3 separate regions of the Homo sapiens genome follow, and all the other regions are linked to region 2. The links are contacts of gene promoters, found by promoter capture Hi-C in blood cells and fetal thymus (Javierre and others, 2016). All regions are on one chromosome and are shown on one strand. The core of a region is centred on a gene start or on the middle of the fragment in contact, and the rest is flanking DNA. Distances in the headings are between cores, read along the strand shown.

Region 1 (2,789 bases), core at 279-2,778, 1.4 Mb after region 2:
GTATTGTGTATGAACAGTCTGGATTTTCTGGAAGATTTCTGCCTTATTCTCAAGTATACCTTTCTTGACTTTTTCCTTTATTTGTCTTTTCTTATTTTATTTTATTTTTACATTTGCGAAATAAGGTAATCAGAAGTTTTGGTCAACAATGCAGTTATTAAATGAAGGTGAAATTTTTCTGGAAATTTAGCCTAAATATTTTCACTGACAGAAAACAAATCTATTTTATTAAAGTTCATTATGAAATTGAAAATCTCATTTCTGATTTACTATAAATTGGAATATGTAGTCTCAATCTTGAAAAGATCAAATTGAAAAAAAATTAGCAGTATGAAAAGAAGTTAAAAGCAGTATGTGAATAGATACATTAAAATGAAACTCAAGGAATGACACTAGTTTTCTTTTTAAAAAGCTCATTTGAAAATGAATTTAAGAAATTACCCTTCACAATTCATTGCAGCATTGGTACTAAAATTCATGTAAAAACTGAGTTACATGGTCACATCAGTCAGTGTGTAAATAGCCAATCAGAATCATTCAACATAAAACTATTTTAGAAACAAATTTGGTTGGTGGAGAAGGGCAGGCAGCAGAATGTTCTTGATAACTATTTAAAATAATTCCTCATGTTTGATAATTGTTTAAAATGATTCCTTGTGTCATCTATAGCAAAATGTTCAAAAGGATGCAAAGAAATGCTTAAGAAGAGCTTTTTAAAAACCATTTATCTGTGAGTAGACAAATACTGTTTTACTTACAGAATCATAATTTTTATTTTTTTTACATTTATTTTATTTTTTGAGATGGAGTCTCCCTCTGTCGCCCAGCCTGGAGTGCAGTGGCACAATCTTGGCTCACTTCTGCCTCCCAGGTTCAAGTGATTCTCCCACTTCAGCCTCCCAAGTAGCTGGGATTACAGGCGTGAGCCACCACTCCTGGCTAATTTTTGTATTTTTAGTAGAAATGGGGTTTTACCATGTTGGCCAGGCTGGTCTTGAAATCCTGACCTCAGGTGATCCACCTGCCTTGGCCTCCCAAAGTGCTGAGATTATAGGTGTGAGCCACAGCTCCTAGGCTAGAATCATAATTTGTCATCTACACCCTGATGTTTATGTTTAGAAGCTAAAACTTATATAAGCATGGGGATAGAATTTGGTTGTTATTAATTACAGTTGATGAATTACAGCTGCGCTTCTCAAAAACCAAACTCTCTGACCCGGATTCTGGGAGTCCCAAGAGCCTTTCACAGGATCTGTAAAGACAAAACTGTTTTGAAAATAATACTGGGACATTATTTGCCTTGTCACTTTCAAAAGTGTACAGAGGAGTTAGGAGCTATGTATAGATGGGTTATTCCAATAGATTGAAAGAGGAAGGAGAATTCAGCTGCCTTCTATTGAATCAAGTATAATAAGATTTGCAAAAATGTAAAAAACAAAGCTACTTACTTTTTGTTTTTTATTTTAAGTTATTTTTGGCCAGGCATGGTGATTTATGCCTGTAATCCCAGCACTTTGGGAGGCCAAGGCAGGAGGATCTCTTGAGTCTGGGAGTTTGAGACCAGCCTGGACAACATAGTGAGACCCTCGTCTCTAAAAAAAAAAATCAAAAAATTAGCTGGGTGTGCTGATGCGTGCCTGTGGTCTCATCTACTTGAGACGCTGAGGTAGGAGGATCACACCCCAGGAGATCTAAGCTACAGTGAACCATGATCATGCCACTGCATTCCAACCTGAGCAACAAAGCGAGACCTTGTCTCAAAAAACAGTTATTTTTCATAAAAAATGTTATTTATGGTTGCAGTAATGGGTGTATTATTTTAAATGAATTAATAATTTTGAAGTTTTCTTTGTAATTTCAAATATGATAAATACAGATAAAATCTCGAGGTCTTCAGTATTTTGAGTGTAAAAGTGTCCTCAGATAAAAAAGGTCGGAGGATAGCTGAATTACAGTGTTGTTTAGGTCTGTACTGTATGGTAGCCACTAGCCGCATGTATCTGAGTACTTAAAATGTAGCTAAGAAACTCAATTTTTAATTTTAATTAATTTAAACTTAATTTCTGGCTGATCTCATCTTGCAGAGGGCAGTTCGCTCTCCCCCTCCGAGAGTGTAAAAAAAAAAAAAAAAGAATTGCCATTCTTTTTCCTTTTTATACTTTATAATGCAAGTATATTGATTAAAAGGTCAAGGGGGAAAAGGTGAAGATGGAGTATTCCAGACCTTTAATTACCTTTTCCCCCTTTTTATTGCCTTCATTTGTATTCTTCATTTACCTATTACTGGTATAGCTTTGGGGCATTAGAGGATAAGTAGTGGTAAATCGGGTGCTGCAGTTGACTGAAGACCTTGTACTATTAGTTTATAGTGTTGCTTATAGGAGAATACCACTATCACCTAATGAAGTGTTTTCTAATTTTTTTTCACTGCTCTCAAACTAAATTGCTACTAAATTTTATTTTTGACTTGAGAACATTTTTATGAACTAGATCCATTGCCAGCATTCTTTTATGCAAAGCTGAGAGGTATGCCTCTTGTCAGACTTAATTACCAAGTTTGGTATTTTGTAACAGCTGTTGAGTGAGTCTGGAATAGTCTTCAGTACCATACAAACACCGGTTGATTAGAAAGATAGAAATGGAACAAGAAGATATTTACCAATATTAAATGAAGGTACAAGCAAATATTATTTTTGGTACTGTAATAAAAAGTAAAACAGTTCTTGAAATTTATTTCAAGGGGGATTGACCAGCAATAGCCACTACCAGTGGTAACTAGAAAATGATAC
Region 2 (2,700 bases), core at 64-2,563:
TCCAAAATCGAAAAAAGTGCCCATAGAAGAACTCCCACAAAGAAATAAACATTTTTTTTTCCTGGAGGAGGGAAACATACAAGACAAGCTTAATGACCTTAAACTGAATTTTAAAATTTAAAAAGTTTATACAACTGATCAAATCTCAAATTATGTATCTATCATTTCATTGTGTCTGTTTTGACAGTTTAATTAGGCATTTAAAAACAATGGCAGGTGTAATATATACCGCTATTAATTGATGATCAAATGGCCAATTAATCACTTTTTCAAAACTAAAATTCAAACAATGTACTCAAACTATTCAATGGCTTGAAAGAGTAACAGAATGGTTTGCACTTTTTGCTAAATAATTGTATTTCATATCTTAGTTTCCTAACTTCCCATTCTTTGAGAACTGGGGCTCAACAGTTCAAGATCAAGAGGACTCCAACTAATCAACAATTAAAATATATACCAAAACATCAGAGTTGTTTTTATAGAATACACTCTTCTTATCCCATGTGGATAATTCGTTACAACTGTCCCAGTCAGGTGATGCCAGCAAATAAAAACACTACAAACTTAAGTATACAAGTTGAACACTGAGTATATAACACCTTAGCTCATTCTTGATTTTCCATTCAATAGGTCAAGGGCAGAAATACTAACAAGTTTTTGTTTTGCTAAGTACACACTCGATACAACTATATCTTATGCCATAAGAAAATTCTTCAGCTTCTAAATGAAAAAGTCAGGGAGATACTAGTGAGAGGGAGATACTTAAAAACAAAATTGCTCGTCTCCTTCCTGCCTTAAACATTCCCACAGACACGTCACCTCTGGACTAGGGCCTGAGGAGGGACTGTCGAAGTTCGAAGTACCCGCAGGTCAGTGCAGAAAGAGCGCATAGCACAGCTGGGTTGATCATTATCTTGAAAATCAAGCCATCTAGTCCGCGCTCATTAGGACAAAAGCGCAGAACTGCCGAGCAGAGGGGATGCACGCGTAGCGGCGCCTGAGCACCCCAGGGCTCTGGGCGTCTCTGCGCCGACCCCCCTCGCGCGCCGCCCGCGAATGGGAGGGCAGGGCTCGCACAAAGACCCGCCGGCCCAGGCGCCCCCGGGTTCCCGCAGAACCCCGCGGGGCTCGCGAGCCCGCGCGCTCTCAGTGCAGCCGCACCGAGGCATCCGGGGCAAGAGGAAAAGAAACAGCAGCCACCTCACAGGAGCGGAAGAACTAGGGGGAGCAGGAGCTGCCTCGGTTTCCCCACTGCAAACAGCCGGCAACGGAAACGACGGAACACTCCCTTCAAGCACCGCGACCCGGAAGTCAGGGAGCGAGGCCGCGGACCCGCCTTCCCAGGGCCACTGCCCGCCCCGCCCCTCCGGCCTCTTCCGATTGGCCCGCGCTCCACCTATTGCTAACGCTGGAGAGAGGTCGAGCTGAGTGGCCCAGGCGCGAGGGCTCAGATACTAGGGACGCCCAGACGGTTTCCCTGGCAACGGCGGCCAGGAGCCCCGCCCCGCGCCGGAGTAGCGCCTCCTAGCGCTGCGCTGGAGACTTTTCCCTCCTTGAACCTCAGGTCCTTAGCGCGGGTTGACACCTTGTACTATTCCTAGGCTCCAAGCGCGGAAGAAACCCTGTGCTTACGGTAACTTATAGTGCCTTAGTTACAAAAGCGCTTTCATCTGCATTGAATCTTAATTCTGTGAAGTAATTATGAATAACTCCACTTTATGCACGAGAAAAGGGAACCGGCTACTTGACTGTGGCCAATACGTGGCAGATGAGGAAAGTCCATGTGTTGAGAAACGAAGTTTGGACTTTATCCTATAATACTATAGGTCTAAAAGTTAATTTATCAAATGTTTATTCCCTAACTGGTTGTTTTTGTTGAAAAAGTAATTTCGTGATTACTTTTTAAAAACCTCAAGCAGTAAGTTTCTTAATTCAACAAGTATTTGTTGATTGTTAGCACAGGCAGTGTTCCAAAAGGCAGTCAAACACGAAACAAACAGCCAAATATTTAATATGTCAGATGCTACTAAATGTTAAGGGTATAGGGGTTGTTAGCTAAGGGGTAATGGGGAGTCTGTGGGGGAAGTCATTGCATACAGTGTGGTCAAGGAAGTCTCATTATTAACGTGGCATTTTGGCCTCATTGAACGAAGTAAGGGAGTTTACTGTGGGAGTATCTGGAGGGAGAGTGATCCAGGCACCAGAATGACAAGTGCAAAGACCTTGAATTGGGAGGGTTTTTGAAATGTTGGAGGAAGAGCAAGAAGGCCGGGGTGGCTGGAGGAGAAAGAGCAAGGGGGAGAGTAGAATATAAATACAAAGGACAACTGATACTGAAAACAAATTTCCCCATCCACCCAAAACTCCTGATACCTCCGTCACCTTGCTCAGAAGCAACCAGTATTACTTTCTTGTTTCTAATTCCAAAAATATTATATGCAAGTGTATATATGTATATTCCTTCCAACTCCTTGAATTGAAGCAAGTGATACATACTTTCCCACATCTCAACCAGCGTTTAAAAAATGGACTAATTGTAGAACACTAGCCATGTGCAGGGTGCATAAGCCGTCATCCCTGTCCCATACCAACAATGAACTTGGTAATGAAGTCTGGATAGACACTACAATAGTAAAATCACAGAATCTTAAATCTTAAAGAGAACTTATAACTATCATCTAATGTAATTTTTAAAATTAT
Region 3 (2,700 bases), core at 13-2,512, 1.2 Mb after region 2:
GCTATAGTTCTCTAAATTTCTCCTGTAAAGAATATTCTATTTTCCTTCAGAGGAAGAAAATTTCTGGTCTTTGAAACAATCAGTAGCTTCCACCAGAACCTGAGTACCTGATTAGATGAGCCAGAAATAGAGTTTGGCAAATGTTACATTCTTTTTGGGTGATGACAAAGAAATGGCAATTTTAAAGGCTCGGCAAATACTAGTCTGATTCAACATTTAACTGATTCATTTGCTAGTTAAAATGCACCTACAGATAACAGTCTGACCACACAGTAGCCTGAATTGAATAAAAAAATATATATTTACTCTGATCACCACAATTTCACAAATAGAGATCCCATTTGAGTTATACTGTAAGTAACAGCCATGCTTTCAGAAAGTTAACATATCCAAGGCTATATGCTGCCGCTGCTGCTGCTGATGATAGTTAATTCATCTTACCCCATGTGCTTGCATGTCACTATGTTCCAAATGCTAACTCTAAAAAATATTAACCAAAAAGAAAGAAATAAAATCATTTACCTTGCAAACTTTAATTCTACAAAAGGGATATGTTGAGTGAAATTTCTCCATATATGTAAGATGTTCTCTATTGAGACTGTTACATCTTATTAAGTACTTGGATCTTATTTAAAAAAAAAAAAAAGGCTGGGCTTGGTGGCTCACACCTGTAATCCCAGCACTTTGGGAGGCTGAGGCGGGCGGATCACAAGGTCAGGAGTTCAAGACCAGCCTGACCAACATGGTGAAACCCCGTCTCTACTAAAAATACAAAAATTAGCCGGGTGTGGTGGTGCGTGCCTGTAACCCCAGCTATCCAGGAGGCTGAGGCAAGACAATCGCTTGAACCTGGGAGGTGGAGGTTGCAGTGAGCCAAGATCGCACCACTGCACTCCAGCCTGGACAACAGAGTGAGACTACATCTCAAAAAAAAAAACATAGGCCAGGCATAATGCCTCATACCTATAATCCCGACACTGGGAGGCTGAGGCAGGAAGATCGCTTGAGCCCAGAAGTTTGAGACCAACCTGGGCAACATAGTGAGACCCTGTCTCTACAAAAAAATTTTAAAATTTGCCAGGTGTGGTGCTGTGAGCCTGTAGTCCCAGCTACTTTGTGGGCTTGGGTGGGAAGATTCCTTCGGCCCCAGAGGTCGAGACTGCAGTGAGCTGTGATGACACCTCTGCTCTCCGGCCTGGGCAACAGAGCTGAGACCTTGTTCCAAAAAAAAAAAAAGAATATAAAAGAAATTCATGTATTTGTCACCTAGATTTAACAAATGTTAACAATTTGCTATTGCTTCTGGGTTTTTTTTGTGTGTGTGTATAGACAGGATTTCTCAATGTTGCCCAGGCTACTCTTGAACTCCTGGGCTTAAGCAATCCACCCACCGCAGCCTCCCAAAGTGCTGGGATTATAGATGTGAGCCCCAACGCCCGGCCTGCTGCTGAATCTTTTTTTTTTTTTTTTTTTTTGAGACAGAGTTTCGCTCTTGTCGCCCAGGCTAGAGTGCAATGGTGCGATCTCAGCTCACCGCAACTCTGCCTCCTGGGTTCAAGCGATTTTCCTGCCTCAGCCTCCCGAGTAGCTGGAATTACAGGCATGCACCACCATGCCCGGCTAATTTTGTATTTTTAGTAGAGACAGGGTTTCTCCATGTTGGTCAGGCTGGTCTTGAACTCCCGACCTCAGGTGATCCGCCCGCCTCGGCCTCCCAAAGTGCTGGGATTACAGGCGTGAGCCAGGGCGCCCAGCTGCTGAGTCTTAAAAAATAAAAACTTATAGATACATCTTGGTGTGTGGGGAGGTGGGAGGTTGTTGGTTTTTTTCTTTTGTTTTGTTTTTGTGACAGGGTCTCACTGTGTCACCGAGGCTGGAGTACAGTGGCAGAGTCTTGGCTTACTGTAGCCTCACCTCCCAGGTCCAAGCGATCTTCCAACCTCAGCCTCCCGAGTAGCTGGAACCACAGACATGCACCACCACACCCAGCTAATTTTTTAAAAAATCATTTTGTAGAGATAGTTATCTACCTATGTTGCACAGGCCAGTCTTGACCTCCTGGACTCAGGCAATCCATTTACCTTGTTCTCACAAAGTGCTAGGATTAGAGGCCTGAGCCACTGTGACTGGCCCAAGTCCTAAGTTTGATTCATAGTATTCTCATGCATGCTGTATCAATAAAAATAGGGATTTTTTGTTTTGTTTTTTGCATTTTATACTGTTTTTCAATTCTTGCTCTTTTTTTACCTTCCTTGGGAGATGTGATTTTTTCCCAGTGGAAAAATCTTGGACTGAAACTTTGCTTTTCTAGCTGCTAACTCAAATCCTCTCTCTTTTCACCTGGATCATAAATAAGATTTTAGTGTTCAAATTCTGAAGATGCTTACATGAATGTTATGAAGCAACTTCTAACAAAATATTATAGATATTAGTTCCTAGCTGGAATTACTTAATCAGGATTCTTTTCTAGATGCAGTTTCACATACAGCTGGGTACTCCAAGTGTACAGTTCCCATCAGCTCTAATATGGTGAGAAAAATGTGCTTATACTTCATCACTTTCCCAAAATACACACTAGTAAAAGGATACAAGGGCCAAAGCTCTGAAAAAGAACAAAGCAGTCTTTCTCAATAGCAGTACTGAAATTAGTAATTTGCTTACTGGTTCTGAATACTCTGACTAAAGATAGCATCTGTTTCA

The links. Contacts are between HindIII fragments. The CHiCAGO score rates a contact against its expected background, and 5 or more counts as called.
Region 1: a fragment that was not itself captured here is called in contact with the fragment with the promoter of ELMOD2 in region 2 in 1 of 17 cell types (fetal thymus); the score reaches 6.8 in fetal thymus.
Region 3: a contact is called between a fragment that was not itself captured here and the fragment with the promoter of ELMOD2 in region 2, in 1 of 17 cell types (naive CD8 T cells). The highest score is 5.9, in naive CD8 T cells.

What each region holds. Positions count from the first base shown.
Region 1 is chr4:139,077,917-139,080,705 of GRCh38, reverse strand. The region is part of intron 4 of ELF2 (E74 like ETS transcription factor 2); the gene reads left to right. Among named protein-coding and RNA genes, the nearest start is that of NOCT, 64 kb to the right of the region's middle. The HindIII fragment of the contact is 4,123 bases long and covers 1-2,789 here.
Region 2 is chr4:140,522,781-140,525,480 of GRCh38, reverse strand. ELMOD2 (ELMO domain containing 2) reads right to left here and starts at 1,313. Exons shown (of 9, transcript NM_153702.4): 1 at 1,201-1,313; 2 at 1-61. The coding sequence starts at 52. RefSeq lists silencers at 952-1,071, 1,262-1,611. The HindIII fragment of the contact is 7,186 bases long and covers 91-2,700 here.
Region 3 is chr4:139,297,214-139,299,913 of GRCh38, reverse strand. NDUFC1 (NADH:ubiquinone oxidoreductase subunit C1) reads left to right here. Exons shown (of 6, transcript NM_001184989.2): 2 at 2,471-2,529. Among named protein-coding and RNA genes, the nearest start is that of NAA15, 2.9 kb to the left of the region's middle. The HindIII fragment of the contact is 2,924 bases long and covers 1-2,700 here.